Regions from separate parts of the Homo sapiens genome. Here all the other regions are linked to region 1. The links are contacts of gene promoters, found by promoter capture Hi-C in blood cells and fetal thymus (Javierre and others, 2016). All regions are on one chromosome and are shown on one strand. The core of a region is centred on a gene start or on the middle of the fragment in contact, and the rest is flanking DNA. Distances in the headings are between cores, read along the strand shown. Region 1 holds the start of CHRAC1 (chromatin accessibility complex subunit 1). Region 2 overlaps DENND3 (DENN domain containing 3). Region 3 overlaps DENND3 (DENN domain containing 3).

The links. The method cuts DNA at HindIII sites, captures the fragments that hold promoters and counts their contacts. A CHiCAGO score of 5 or more calls a contact.
Region 2: a contact is called between a fragment that was not itself captured here and the fragment with the promoter of CHRAC1 in region 1, in 1 of 17 cell types (neutrophils). The highest score is 8.9, in neutrophils.
Region 3: a fragment that was not itself captured here is called in contact with the fragment with the promoter of CHRAC1 in region 1 in 1 of 17 cell types (M0 macrophages); the score reaches 5.3 in M0 macrophages.

What each region holds. Positions count from the first base shown.
Region 1 is chr8:140,509,318-140,514,438 of GRCh38, reverse strand. It overlaps CHRAC1 (chromatin accessibility complex subunit 1), which reads right to left and starts at 3,117. Exons shown (of 3, transcript NM_017444.6): 1 at 2,793-3,117; 2 at 1-70. The coding sequence starts at 2,939. RefSeq lists enhancers at 2,055-2,364, 3,425-3,634, 3,645-3,724 and a silencer at 2,405-3,414. The HindIII fragment of the contact is 9,156 bases long and covers 1-5,121 here.
Region 2 is chr8:141,176,761-141,181,881 of GRCh38, reverse strand. DENND3 (DENN domain containing 3) reads right to left here. Exons shown (of 23, transcript NM_001352890.3): 15 at 5,121; 16 at 3,686-3,815; 17 at 1,028-1,135. Among named protein-coding and RNA genes, the nearest start is that of DENND3-AS1, 49 kb to the right of the region's middle. RefSeq lists enhancers at 294-794, 3,106-3,155, 3,166-3,255. The HindIII fragment of the contact is 3,883 bases long and covers 184-4,066 here.
Region 3 is chr8:141,160,227-141,165,347 of GRCh38, reverse strand. It overlaps DENND3 (DENN domain containing 3), which reads right to left. Exons shown (of 23, transcript NM_001352890.3): 9 at 4,561-4,716; 10 at 1,919-2,015; 11 at 59-162. Among named protein-coding and RNA genes, the nearest start is that of DENND3-AS1, 33 kb to the right of the region's middle. RefSeq lists a silencer at 404-698. The HindIII fragment of the contact is 3,989 bases long and covers 430-4,418 here.

The sequences.
Region 1 (5,121 bases), core at 1,868-4,367:
TCAGTACTTTCTTTTCCTTTCCACTGCCGTGTCTGTAGGAATAGGTGGCTAGGCATTGAACAAAGAGCTCCTAGAACAAAATGAAAAATGCAAATGAAAGGTGTGCTTTGAAAATGTACCACAGAAATTAATTTTTAAAATTACATTGTTGATTCCTTAATTAGGCTTAAAAGTATATTAAGACTTCAGATTCTCTTGGTTTCTCAAATTAAATTACAAGAAATCACTGGGGAGGCCAGGCGTGGTGGCTCACGCTGGTAATACTAACACTTTGGGAGGCTGAGGCAGGCGGCTCACTTGAGGTCAGGAGTTTGAGACCAGACTGGCCAACATAGTGAAACCCCATCTCTATTAAAAATACAAAAATTAGCTGGGCATGGTGGCGGGTGCCTGTAATCCCAGCCAGCGGGAGGCTGAGGCAGGCGAATCGCCTGAACCTGGGAGGTGGAGGTTGGAGATTGCAGCACTCTGGCCTGGGTGATCAAGCAAGACTCCGTCTCAAAAAAAAAAAAAAAAAAAAAAAAAGAAATCACTGGGGAAAAGAAAAACATGAGGTCAGAAAGAAAGCAAAGCCAGTATCAAAATTGGCGGAGAAGCAGGCATTTTCCAGAGGCTTATTTTAGATGTCTAACTTACGAAAAAGATGAATCGTAACTGTTTAATGACCAACCTCTAGAGTAAAAGAAAGAAGCGGCCGGGAGCTGTGGCTCAGGCCTGTAATCCCAGCACTTTGGGAGGCCAAGGACGGCGGACCAAGGATGGTCAGGAGATCGAGACCATCCTGGCTAACACGGTGAAACCCCGTCTCTACTAAAAATAAAATAAAAAAAAAAAACAAAATTAGCCGGGCATGGTGGCGGCTGTAGTCCCAGCTACTCGGGAGGCTGAGGCAGGAGAATGGCGTAAGCCCGGGAGGCGGAGCTTGCAGTGAGCCGAGATCGCGCCACTGCACTCCAGCCTGGGCGACAGAGCGAGACTCCGTCTCAAAAAAAAAGAAAAAAAAATAGAAAGTAGCAAAAAGCCATTCAAAAATTCTATTTGGCTCAGGAATACCTTTTTAGTCTTCTATTTGCATACACTGTTTCTAAGGTGGTTCACCTACAACTATAGTGACCACAGCTTACATTTTGCCAAAACTTTTCTATTCTAGGAACTGACATACAACCCTCAGACCTAATGAAACAACCGGAACTGATCTTCTCCCTCCTGCATCCCAGTTCTTATAGCAGGGCCAAGTCTTCATTTTTACAGAGGCTGAACTGAGCCTCTTTCTCAAGGTTTTGACTTTAATGCATCTAGTTCAGTTAATAAGGGATGAGAAAGACGGGCGTGATGGTTCACGCCTGTAATCCCAGCACTTTGGGAGGCTGAGGCAGACGGATCACCTGAGGTCAGGAGTTCAAGACCAACTTGGGCAACATGGTGAAACCCTGTCTCTACCAAAAAATACAAAAATTAGCCGAGTGTGATGGCAGGCACCTGTAATCCCAGCTACTCAGGAGGCTGAGGCAGGAGAATCATCTGAACCCGCGAGGCAGAGGTTGCAGTGAGCAAGACAGTGCCACCGCACTCCAGCCTGGGAAACTCCATCTCAAAAAATAAAATAACGGGTCAGAAGTGCCTGCATAAATCCTCATTCCTTAATACCAATAGAATGAAATTGTATAGGAAAATACAAATGTCCCCAGATGAAATGCTGAATATGCAATTATTTCCCTGGGCTCTAGGAAAACATGGCTCTGACATAAAGCGGGCAAGAAACCTGTAATTTCCCACTTCCCTTAGTTCTAGTCCAACACTGCAGGGACATCATATACTTAACTACAAGTAGGGACTGGAAAATAGAATCCAAGACAAGCTAAAGCATTTAACTGTGTAGCTGAAACATGGCCCAGTGTCAGAACAGGAAAACATCTGGCCTAACACTATCGAGACGCAATTTTTTTAAAAAAAGACAAAATTATCTATTTTGCACCCAGGAGGATGCTAAGCAGGCTGTAAAACTTAAGTTCCCCGGACTTCCTTAAATTCTGGTTGGGGAATGTGCTGCCTCTTAGACGAGGGGCCCCAGCTGTGGCGGGCGGGAGGGCTCGAAAGCCTCGGACCGCTGGAGCTGGCACCGCACGCGCGGGAAAAGAGCCTCGAGTCGCGGGTGAAGCGCCCGGCTGCCCCTCCCACGGGACACTGGAGGAGTTAGGGCCCTCAAAGCACGAAGCAGTCCAGTGACAAGAAAAAGGCAGGCCGGGAGTAGGGAGTCGCGGGTGAAAGAGCCCCCAAAGAACCCAAATGAGAAGAGCGCCACTAGGCGCCGACGCCCACGGGTAGGGCCGGAAACTGAGCGCCGCACGCGAGGGAGGACGTGAGCGCACAGGTGGGAGGGACGAAAGGCGCGCAGAGGAACGCGGGAGCTTACGGGTTTGCCGAATGGAAGCGCGAGAGAAACGGCGGGAGGACAGTGGGGTGGGCGGGGCGAAGGTGCGCACGGAAGGAAGGGGCGGGCGGAGCGAAGGAAGGCGACAAAGGGCGGGAGAGGCGCGCGGTAGGCGAGGCGAAGAAACTGGAGAACGTGAGGGAGCGGCGAGGGGTGGGCGGGGCGAAGACGCGCGAGAAAGTGTGGGGGCGCGCGGGCACCGAAGCGCGCGCCGGCGTGGGACGGGGACAGCGGGGCGCGCGCGAGCCCGGCAAGAGCAGCCGGCGGCGCGCGGGCCTAAGGGGACTGGGCAGTGCCCAGAGCCCGGCGGGGCGGGGCGCGAGGGGTAAGGGCGGCCCACACCCCCGCCCTGCCCCCTCACCGTGGCCTTGGCCGTGAGCACCAACGCCTCCTGGTTGATGCTGGACACCTCGGGGGAGCTCTTCATGATGACCCGGATGCGGGATAGAGGCAGCGAGATGAGCCGCTGCTCCCCGCCCTTGTCTTTACCCACGACCACGTCCGCCATCTTCCCGCCCGTCGCGCGGGTGCCCGCAGCCGGCGGGCCCGACCGCGAAGTGGCTGCCCTGCCCGGCCAGCTGGTGGGTACGGGGAGCCGCGCCCGCTGCCCCGTGGGAGTTGTAGTGTGGGGAGGCGAGGCCGCGAGGCCGGGAGCGGCCCGTCCGGGAAACTACGAGCTCCGTGAGGCCTCGCGCCCCCGATCTGCGCATGCGCCGACGCTCGGACACCGCCCCCGAGTGCGAGGCCCGGCGCGGAACCGGCAGCCGAGAGCCTGGCGGGGGCGGGGCGCACCGCGCCGCTCCCGGGAGTCTCCGGGCTGCGGTCGCGGAATACGACTTTGATCCGCGGGTGAGGGCTCTGTGAATGGGCAAGCAAAGCCCTCTGACTCCGGGCCTCGTGGCTGGGTGCTGTGTGTTAAGCGCCTGCGCTGTACTAGGACCGGGCGTGCCGCCGTCGGCAAAAAGTGACGCTTTCTTGAAGCACAAAGTCCAGGGGGGACGACCAAGCGGACAGCGGATGCGTCCTGCGCCGGTAGCCAGGCGACCGGTGGAAGAGCAGAGTCCAGCGCGGGCGATGCGGCGGGGCCAGGCTTGCTGCGCCGCGGGGTGATTGGGAGAAGAGCCTTCCTGCGGGGTGGAGGACGAAGAGCTGCCCTGAGGAGGTCCCGGAGTCTGGTGGGAACGGCCTCTTCGGGACTGCTCCGAGAGACGGTGTGCAGAGCCTGGCGTGCTCGCCGAGGTCTGACAGGCAGCCCGGGGCTAGGTCCTGTTGGATTTTTTTTTCTAAGGAAAATGGGAAGTGGTGGTAGGGTTTGAGCAGTGGAGTCCCGGGCAGTTTTAAAAGGATCCCTGCAGCTGCCGGCTGGGAGGGCGTGGGTGCGCGTAAGGCCGGAATCACAGAGACCAGGTAGAAGATGATTACGAGAACCCAGGAACGTGGCCCTCAGGAGGCCGGCAGTACCAAGGGGACAGCAGCTGGGAGGAGAGAGGCAGGAGATGGTCAGGGGCCAGACCAGGGAAGGCCGCGGAGACCGCAGAATTCGCTCTGAATGAGTGGGGAGGCCCTTGGAAGAGTAAGGGGTCCAACTTAACTTTTTTTTTTTTTTTTTTTTTTGACACAGAGTCTCGCTCTGTCGCCAGGCTGGAGTGCAGTGCGATCTCGGCTCACTGCAACCTCCAACACCCCGATTCAAGCAATTCTCCTGCCTCAGCCTCCTGAGTAGCTGGGATTATAGGCACGCGCCACCCAGCTAATTTTTTGTATTTTTAGTAGAGACGGGTTTTCACCATGTTGGCCAGGATGGTCTCGATCTCCTGACCTCGTGATCCGCCCGCCTCGGCCTACCAGAGTGCTGCGATTACAGGCGTAAGCCACCGCGCCTGGCCACCAACTTAACTTCTGCCAGGATCATGGGAAGTGGTAGGGTTTGGGGTCTGATTTCAAGAGGGAGCTGCTGTGGAGTATCAGCACAGCTTACTGAGATATCAGAAAGGCCTTGGTAAAGAGCCCTTTACTGAGACAGGGAGCACATTTTGGCAGAGGTTTGAATTGGAGCGTGTTAAGTGTAGTGTCTTCTTCACCACTGTGACGTGAGGTCCTGGCGCAAATAATTGAGCACAGAAATACATGTCAGGCATTGCTAGGCACAAGGGTACAGCCAGTGAGCAGGGCTGCCATGGTCCCTGCCCTCTTAGAGCTGACCTTCAGGTCTGAGGGAGACTGAAAAATAAGTAAGAATACCTCCAGCCGGGCGCTTTGGCTCACGCCTGTAATCCCAGCACTTTGGGAGGCCAAGGTGGGTGGATCACCTGAGGTCAAGAGTTCGAGACCAGCCCAACCAATATAGTCAAACCCCATCTCTACTGAAATTATTAAAATTAGCTGGGCGTGGTGGTGGGCACCTGTAATGCCAGCTACTCGGGAGGCTGAGGCAGGAGAATCGCTGGAACCCAGGAGGCAGAGGTTACAGTGATCCGGGATCGCGCCACTGCACTCCAGCAGCCTGGGCGACAGAGGGAGACTCCATCTCAAAAAAAAAAAAAAAAAAAAAATACACCTCCAATGCTGAAAGCTACGAAGGAAACAAAACCATGTGCGAGTGATAGGGCAGCCCCTCTGGGAAGTGACATTTGTGCCCAGATCTGAAGAAAGAAAAGGAGCCACTCATACAGAAAGACTGAGACAAGATG
Region 2 (5,121 bases), core at 876-3,375, 670 kb before region 1:
AGGATCGCTTGAATCCAGGAGGTTGAGGCTGCAATGAGCCATGATTGCACCAACTACACTCCAGCCTGGGCAACAGAGCAAGACCCTGACTCAAAAAAATAAAAAATACACAAAAAATACAAATCTTTTCTGCCGAGAACTGTATTCCTTTGTTTTCCACACTGTAAACCCTCAGCATAAGCTTCCCTGCTGCACTGTCCATAAGCCAAAATTAAATAAAAGTATTTTCCACAGTTTCAACGTGCGACATGACAGCCATCTTTTTTTATACCAAGACTCTTGGCCGCGCCCATTTCCTTCTCCTGCCACCACCCTGATGCGGCGTGCAGGGTCCCAGGAAAGCCAAGCACAGGAGGCAGGTGCAGCCGCACCCAGCGGAGAAGAGGGACTGGCAGGCACTCAGGGCCGCTCAGGGCCACACAGACTCCTTGTCATTCCAGTTCCTATGACAACAAATATCTGAGGCGCCATCACCTTATCACCATGACAAGAGGATCCCATTAAGAGCTTCTGCGGAAACGATGTGAGCAAGAGTGCTTTAGAAAGTGCCAGTGTGTTAGCCAGACATGGTGGCGGGTGCCTGGGGTCCCAGCTACTCGGGAGGCTGAGGCAGGAGAATCACTTGAATCCAGGAGTTGGAGGATGCAGTGAGCCAAGATTCACCACTGCACTCCAGCCTGGGTGACAGAGCAAGACTCCGTCTCAAAAAAAGAAAGAGCTAGCGTGACCGTCGACTGCTCTAGAAGGTGAGGGACGGCAGCCCTGGGGCGGGAGCTCAAGTGCTGGCCCCAATTCCATCTCCCGTGGGCTCTCTGGCTCCAGTCACCGTGAGGCTGAGTCCGTGGAGCGGTCGTGCCAGCTGCACACCTGTCACTCAGCACTTCACCTCAGAAAGCAACAGGCACCTTGTCCCCACTTATCCCGTGACACTGGCTCCCCTTTCACTTCAGGGCTGACCCTGAACCCAAACCTAAGCGCATCAGATTGGCTGAAAACTGGCAGCGAGGCGCGGGCAGAGGGGCCTTACCTGGAGTGTAGAGCAGCACGTCCACCGCTTGTGGGAACGCCTCCCCCGCCGAGGGGTTGATTTTATGCTTCAGTGTTTCCAGGGTTGTCTCCGGAAGCGTCATGGGCACTGAAAGACAAGACACTTGGAGTGTTACTGTTGCAGCCTCAAGGAAACAGACGCGATGCAACGGCCTCACGCACTCTGATTTCTGCAGAATATCAGCTTGCAGGTAAAACTTCCTAATTTGTGAAGACGAAGGTCTCTTGGACCCGGGGCACTGAAAGAAAGCCATGCACCCTCGGCCTCCTTTCCTGGTTGTCACCTGGTGTGCGAGTGAGTGGCCAGGCGCATCCCCCACCTGTGTCCACACCACACCTCCATGCCCCTATGCCTCGAGCTGCCTTTGTTTAAACACAGCCTTCTTCTCTGCTCCTGAGCCATCCCTTGTGATCTCTAGCTACACCCAAACATGACACAGTGCCCAGCAAAGCGGAGATATAAAATTCTCCTCAATAACGAAGCCCTCCCAAGATGAAACCCAGAGACCTAACCCATGAGCGCGGTTTCCCAGCCTAGAACCAGGGGCGTGTTGGGCTGGATAATCCTGGCTGTGGGCGAATGCCCAGCATCCTGTGTGCCATGGGATGTGGAGCATCATGAGATGCCAGTAGCACCTCACACACAACCACAGATATCTCCAGGTGCTGTCAAAATGCCTCTCCGCAGTGAGGGGGTGCAACATCGCCCCCCGTTCAAAACCACTGCTCCTCAGGATATCCTAATGCTCCTCTTGCTATCCAATCCAACCCATGTTTCCAGGCAAAACCTAAAGCGGCCTCCTGCCTGGAGGCCCCCGGGCACAGCCTGCTCTGACACGGCTCCTCATTGCTGCCCGGAGGCCCCTGGGACCAGCCTGTTCTGCGGTCCCTCCTGCCAGCCCCTGCGGGCGCCTCGACCTCCTGCGTCCAGGACTCCCTCAGTCCCTGCCGTCCAGGGCCTGCCCCTTAAGTGCTTCTCTTCCATCATTTTGTTACTGTCATAGCAACCTGATGAGATTGGTCCCGTTATCCCCATTTTGAAAAAAGAAAGATGAAGAAACCGACACACGTCGACATCCGTGATCAAATGAAGATCACACTGTCAGCAAGGGGTCGACCAGGACTCCGCACGAGGCTGGCGGGCTACACCGGGCTGCGGTGAAAGCCAACTGGCCGCGGCCAACGCCTCTTCAGCTCCTGCCTCGGACTATGACATCTTCGGGTATTATTTAATTCCGTACAGTCTGAGACCTTCCATCATGAGTTGGCCATAAGCTACTAAATTAAGCTCAGGCTCATGTGTCCTGAGCTTTACACATGGGAAAATGTTTCCGGATTTGTAACGAGGGAGCGGGAGCCAGCGCACCACACCAAGTGACACCAGCATGGCGGCTCCTCGTCTGCCGTCATGCGCTGATAACAGAGGCGTTAGAAGGCTTTCCTGTAAACGCCCGACAGAGATTAGGCATGAGTTTGGAATGAGATCAACAGCTGAAGTAGGGGGTTTGTTTGATTTTGCTCCCAAGGAAAAAGAAAAGAGCAATCAATGTCTGGTTCCAGGACTGTCAGACAAAAGCTCCTTCAAGCCACTCAGCTGGCCTTGCAGGAACACAGGCACCTGAGCCCGGCTGCTGCTGCAGCTCAAGGTCCCTCTGGGTCACGTGGGAGAGGGATTCTGTACCCAGAAAGTGGCAGAGGTCCTGCAGTTGGTGACAGATGCCACAAAGAGAGCAAACTGTGCCCAAGGAAATAAACACGTAAGTGAGGTTTGTTCCTAATTCTGCGACTTTTTAAAAAGCCAGAGTCCCCTAGATCTACGCCCAAGGGAAATGAAAACAGATGTGCACACCAGAGCTTACACATGAATGCTCACAGCAGCCACAACACAGAGGCCACGCCAGTGCTCACTCACTGATGAAGGGACAGACCAAACGTCCTTCACCCAAACGGTGTCTATCACTCAGTCACAAGAAGACCAGAAAACCCTAGGCTTGAAGATCACCTTTCACAAGAAAAAAATGGGAGTCCAGCACCAGCCTCTATGGCTTCCAGAATGCGAGAGCCAGATGCAAATCTACAGGACAGTCAGAGGATTCCTGTCTGGGGAAGCTGACCCAATCAAGAAAAAAGCGGATCCTGACGTGCAGGGCCTCTCCTCACTCATGCAGCGGTGAAGCCCGTCAGTCAACAGGCCAGCTGTGTAGACGTTCCCAGCTTCTCAGCAGGTGTGTTCCTAACTGCAAGTCCCAGACACCCGCTCCCCACCAGTCAGAGATTCCAGGAGCCGCTCCACAACCTCCCACAGGTTTCTAGTCTGCTTCAGCCAGCCAGAGGAAAGGCTGTTGTTTGTAATTACGAATCACCACAAATGCTTGCAGTGTACATTGCAATGCTATCCAGACATTAAAACGACGAGGTGCCTCAATTGGATGCGCAAGGGGCTCCAAGGTGCACTGTGCAGTGAAGGAAGGAAAGATGCCGGATAAGGTGTGCGACTCGAGAGTAAATTACAAATATAAAAGAAAAAACTGGGGGAGCTGGGCTCGGTTCTACTTGATAAAACAGACATCGACCAGATAAAATCACTTAAGGCGTGTAATCAGGACAATGATCCACGCTAAGAACGGGCTTATCTTACTTTCGTTACTCATCTTATCAAAGTAGGATAACTTGGAGGCAGCGTAGATGGCGCCTGGTGACTGCAGTGTGCCCACGACGGCGTCCATCAGCAAGACGTTGGTCAGCGCCTGCTGGACGTAGTGAGGGTCCTACAACAGAAACACGTGCGTTTCAAAACAGCAAGAATCACTAAGATCAGTTCACCGGAGACCTTGTTGCAACACACAGGACAATCCTTCCAAAATGCCTTTTTCCAAAGTGACATGAAGAGTTTAGATCACGGATGAATTTGGATTTTATGTCATATATTTCTTCTCTTACTTAAGACAAATATTGATTGTTTATACCAGGGCTCAGCCAGTGTTTTCTAGAAGGGGCTAGGCAGGAGGCATTTCAAGCTTTGTGGCCAGTCTCAGCTGAGATCACCCACTGCCTGCCACTGCGGCATGGGAGCACCGAGGGACATTTCATAAACAAACAGGCAGGACTGTGTTCCAATAAAACTTTACTTACAAAGACAGTCCACTGGCCCACGGGCTTTGGTTTGACTATGCTGGTTTATGCTATGTAAACCAGTGGGTATAGCATCAGATGGCTAGTCTAAAAGCCACAGGGCACTGGAATCTTAGAAAGGACCCAGTCCCCCTCTGCCCTGTGACCGGGAACTTCCTGTAATAACAGCAACCCTCCCGCTGTGGCCCCATCTGTTCCTCCTAGCACTGCCACTGTAGTGGGTGCCATCGTCCCCGGCATTTCTCTGAGGATTAGTGGGGCTACACACCTCTTCATAACCTGGTGAACTGTTCCCTTTCTGTGAGTTCCGCGTTCATGGTCTTTGCCCATTTTCTAAGGCGTCTTCCTGTCTTGTGCCACCCTTGAGCAGCGTGGATGCCTCCTCTACACACCACCGGCCCATGGTTCCCTTCATTACTATGCAATTGTCATTTGATATCATCAAAGCTATCAATTTGGCCCAAAGTAAATTAAGGTACAACAATCCCTAGAAAAATCATCTCAACCCTGTGGAAGGAAAGCAGTACTGCCCCTGCCGAATTCCAAATCCTGTGACTGTGAAGAGTCGCTCAGAGCAGGGAAGCCCAAAACACCCAACTCCGGCCTGCGGGTGTGGACAGCACCAGCACCGTCCGCCCCCGGGAGGCCCCACTCTCTGGGATGTCGCCAGTCTGGAGCGGGCAGTGGGGCACCCACACCTGCCCAGACCGCCCTGCGTTTTCTCATCATGCTCTTCCGTAGCACCGTGAGGCCTCTCGCTGGGTCACACAGACCACATCTTCAATGCTTCTGTCAAGATGGTGTCCGACAAACTTACTCTGCTTAAGACACTCAGACCCGAGCCCGAGCACTCACAGCTGAGGACTGCCACAGGACCCACAGGTGGCGAGAGGCCCCTGAGGCAGCCACAGCAAAGGGCAGAGGGGACCCGCGTCTCCCACC
Region 3 (5,121 bases), core at 1,175-3,674, 650 kb before region 1:
GTCCTTGAACACTGTGATTCCTAAAGAGCTGCAGATCCAAAACACAACAGTGAAGCACCTGTCCTCCTCCGACTGGGTGTCGAGGTCCATCTGAGCAAAGGCGTCCATCCTCCTATTGAGCCGGGCTTTAAGAAAAGAATGGAACATGTAGGTGTCTAAGACCTGGAAAAGAGAGAGGGGCTGGTCACTGGGCTGTGCCGACTCCCCAGGTCCCTGCTCCAAAGCCCCTGAGCCTTCCTGGCACAGAACTGGGCATCACCACTCACACCCAGTGGATATTGACTGAGTGAATGAACTCGAGGGTTTTCTGCTCTTCCTCATTCACACAGGAGAAGAAATGGCTGCCATACATTCACACACTGGGTCCCACATACCCACCCCATGAACAAAAGAGTATTTCATCATAGCTACAAGAGGTGGACACAAGCTTCTGGCCATAAGGCAGTAGACAAGGCTCAGACATATCCTCCTGACATAAACTATGAGGAAACTCGATAAAAAAGAGGAAACGACTGTTTTCAGATGCTGGACGAGAGGCAGGCTCGTGGCTGGCGCAGCTCCAGCACTGAGGGCATGGAGGGAGCTCACAGAGGCTGAGGCAGCTGGAAGCCTCGGGCAGGGCTCTGGAGAGGAGGGAATGATACAGGGAGCTCCCGGAGCCTGCATCAGGGTCTCCCTAAGCCTTTGCTGAATACCCCGCTGCCCAGTCATAGGGCGAAACCGCATCAAACCAAAGAACGACTGGGAAGCTGTAAGCAAAACAACTCTCCAAGCTCACAGGGCAGAGAGCCAGTCACGCTCCCAACAGCCAAGGCGGAGGGCCCTGGCTGACCCCTCAGCCATTCAGGAGACACCCGGGGCAGGGTACGTCACTTAGCAGATGGGTTAGGCTATAAACCAACCCTAGAGAAAGGCTGTTCTCGGCCCACCCCAAAGCTGTAAAAACAAACCCCCAAAGGATCAAGGGGCTCTTCAGGCAGCTTCAATCGCCTGCCAGGGCAAAGCCCCCAAGGTGATTATTTTTTTGTAATAGTCACAAATGGAAACAACCCCAATGCTCAGTAGCAGGTGGACAGAAGAACAAAGCGCACTCTGTCCCAACCACGGGACATTCCTAGCAAAAAAAGGAGCCGCCGCTGAGACACACAGTAGCCCAGCTCGGTCCGAGGCAGGAGGCTGAGGGAGAGAGGCAGACAGAGCGCAGACCGCAGGACTGCACAGCGCAAGACTCTGAGATGGGCCAGCCGTCTACGGGGATGCACACAGGTAGAGTTGCCAGGACCTGGGGAGGGATGGGGCAGACTGGAGCCATGGAAATGTTCTATGTCCAGGTTGAGGAAGTGGTGATACAGATATGTACATTTGTCAAAATCCATCAAACCACACACTTAAAATGGCCATATTTTAAGTAAATTATACTTTTTTTTTTTTTTTTTTTTTGAGACGGAGTCTTGCTCTGTCGCCCAGGCTGGAATATAGTGACACCATCTTGGCTCACAGCAACCTCCACCCCCTGGGTTCAAGCAATTCTCCTGCCTTAGCCTCCTGAGTAGCTGGGATTACAGGCGTGCACTACCACACCCAGCTAATTTTTGTATTTTTAGTAGAGATGGGATTTCACCATGTTGGCCAGGCTGGTCTCGAACTCCTGACCTCAGGTGATCTGCCCGCCTCGGCCTCCCAAAGTGCTGGGATTACAGGCATGAGCCACTGTGCCTGGCCACAAGTAAATTATACTCTTAAAAAGCTGATTTTTTTAAAAAAGAGGGAGAGCCACATGGTCAAAAGGAACCATGCTAAAACAAACTTTTTGGAAAAGTTGATACACTTGAGAACACTTATTTTGAAAAGTATTTAAATACAGAAAAGGATAATGGATTGAACACACACAGGCACACCCAAATCCCACAGCTCTCACCTGCTTATAAAACTGATGGTCCCCTGGAGCCCTGGTTTTGAGAAATTCTTCACTATTAAAGACTCTGTGTTCATAGTTTAAATGATTCTTTACATCCCTAACAAAGAGAAAGAGAGTCTGAGTGCTAAAACTTTCTTAAATACATGAAAAATATACCACTTTTAGTAGCAGAGAAATGGTTAGAAGAGATACGAACTTTGAAAAAGCCATGTTCTTCAGAAAGATTCTTGATTACCAAAATGATACGATGTGGATGTATTTTGTGGTCAAGCATAAATTTCCCCCAGCTAGAACGAAAGTACAGGAGGCAGTGTTCCTGTTCTCACCTTCCTCCAGCCCACTAGTTCCTTATGCAAATTAAGACACAAAAGTCAGTTGCGGTCCACACACATGAAACTGAGTTCAGGGTGGGGAGCCCAGAGGGGCAGCCAGACTCTCCAAGTGCTGACCAGCTCGGCCGCCAGCCTTCCCGGACAAGTCACTTCACCTCTGTGTTTGTTTGTCTGTTTGTTTGTTTAGACGGGGTCTTGCTCTATGGCCCAGGCTGGAGTGCAGTGGCACAATCTTGGCTCACTGCAACCTCCACCTCCCAGGTTCAAGTGATTCTTCTGCCTCAGCCTCCCGAGTAGCTGGGACTACAGGTACACACCACCATGCCTGGCTAATTTTTATATTTTTAGTAGAGATGGGGTTTCACCATGTTGGCCCTCAGGTGATCCACCCACCTCGGCCTCCCAAAGTGCTGGGATTACAGGCGTGAGCCACCGAGCCCGGCCCACTTCACCTCTTTGTACCCGGTTTCCTCAGATCATGTTACAAACTCGCGATTTTAGCACATGATCTCCCAGATCTAAAGTAATATATAAATAGAATGAATAACCTTACAGGGCATACTTAGTACGTAATGTGTTCAGTGTTTTCTTGGAGAGAATAAATTATTTCATCTAGGGGAAATAAAGTTTTATCATATGTAATCATATTTTCTGCCTCTTTTTTTTAAAGAGCCGGGATCTTGCTATGTTGCCCAGGCTGGTCTCAAACTTCTAGGCTCAAGGGATCCTCCCACCTCAGCCTCTGGAGTGGCTGGGACTATTCTGCTTTTCTGTCAACTCATTGAGTTTGTAAAATATTAAGAAATTAAAAAAAAATTGTTCATAAGATATTTCATCTTCAAAGAACAAAAGGAAAACAACATATTTAGGACCCCACTAATTATGCCTCTTTGAGCAGAGATAATATCACATGTCTGTAATACACCATCCCATTTTTTCCTAATAAATTATTCGCTTTATGCAAACAAATACATCAAAAGAATAGGCCATTCAGGCTGGGCGCTATGGCTCACACCTGTAATCCCAGCACTTTGGGTGGTCGAGGCAGGAGGATCACCTGAGGTCAGGAGTTGGAGACTAGCCTGGTAAACATGGTGAAGCCCTGTCTCTACTAAAAATAGAAAAAATTAGTTAGGCGTGGTGGTGGCAGGCGCCTGCAGTCCCAGCTACTTCAGAGGCCGAGGCAGGAGAATTGCTTAAACTTGGGAGGCGGCAGTTGCAGTGAGCCCAGATGGCGTCACTGCATTCCAGGCTGGGTGACAGAGTGAGACTCCATCTCAAAAAAAAAAAAAAAAAAAAGGCCACTCAAATTTCCATTTTGAAATAATCACGCAGAGTACGATCAAGCCAGCAGGCTCTGTGCTAACCACCTCCCAAAGCGGAAGGCCCCTCAAGAACAGAGGAGGCCAGCATCGGGGGTGCCTCCTTCACTGCTGGACTCAGGGAGCAACCAGCAAGAAGGAGAGGAAGAACACTGCCAGAGAAAAGGAGAAAGGGTGGGAGAAGCCCAAAGGCTTTTGCATTAAAAAGTACTTATCTATGAAGCTATCATTTTTGCCATACATTCCTTAAGTGACTGCCTATTTAGGCCAGAAATAGCAACTCAATACCTGTACTGTATCACACTGAAATAAACACACTTGACTTGTCCACTTAACCAATTCCAGCTCAGGTGCTGGGGAAGCAATAGCATGCAGGAGGTAGCTAATGCTGTAATTAGTGGAATGAGGAGAAAGAAAACTTGCTAACAGGCACATCTTGAGTGCCCCACCCGTCCTGTGGCTCTCCCATAGATGGTTTCATGATCTAGCTTATGAGTCACATCAAAATGGCCTGTCTGTCCCTCACTAGCCCCTGGATGCAGGCCTCTCGGGACAGAGCCCTCCACGGACTGAGCCAGAGCCCGGAGCCAGCACAGGCCAGAGTGACAGGTGCTCCCTGCAGGTTTATCAGATTTGCGTCTTCCTAGAGGGCTGTCCCAAAACAGCCACCTGCAGGGGGTCACCAGGAGAGGGCGTTAGTAAGGTAGTAAGGCACAGTCACCAGCAGGAGAAGCTGTTAGGAAGGCAGTCACCAGCAGGAGAGGGTGTTAGGAAGGCACAGGCAAGGTCAGAATCAAAAGAACAAACTCCCTGTAACTGCTGATTGTTACAGTCACAAGAAAAGCTTTGGCAGGGGGCGGGGACCACTCATGTTTGCCAGGCAAATGGTACTAATGGCCTGCCCTCTGGGGCGGGGTGCACGATCCCCATAGAATGGATGGCTGGCTGGTTACCTCCTCATGGACACTGGGAATGTTCTCTCACGTACCTGAAGATGCTCACGAGCAGCTGCAGGGTGGTCTGCTGTATCTGGCAGTTGAGTTTCTGCTGCCAGGACCGCCGGTGGGCTCGGCCCTCCTTCAGGTCTGTGCTGGAGAGGAGGTGGGCGGCGTGCAGCTCATGGTGGAGCTGGAGGCTCTGCACCCTGGAAGGAGGCAGACCGAAGCTAGCTCAGCCCCAGCAGCACTGGCCACGGCCGCTCACCAGCACACAGCCCACCAGGTAAATGAACACTTCACAGACACAAATACCGATCAATAATTTGAGGGGCGGGTGGTCATTAAAGTACATCACTGGGGCTGGACGCGGTGGCTCACGCCTGTAATCCCAGCACTTTGGGAGGCCGAGGTGGGTGGATCACCTGAGGTCAGGGAGTTCAAGACCAGCCTGGCCAACATGGTGAAACCCATTCTCTACTAAAAATACAAAAATTAGCCAGGCATGGTGGCAGGCACCTGTAATCCCAGCTACTCGGGAGGCTGAGCCAGGAGAATCGCTTGAACCTGGGAGGTGGAGGTTGTAGTGAGCCGAGATAGTGCCGCTGCACTCT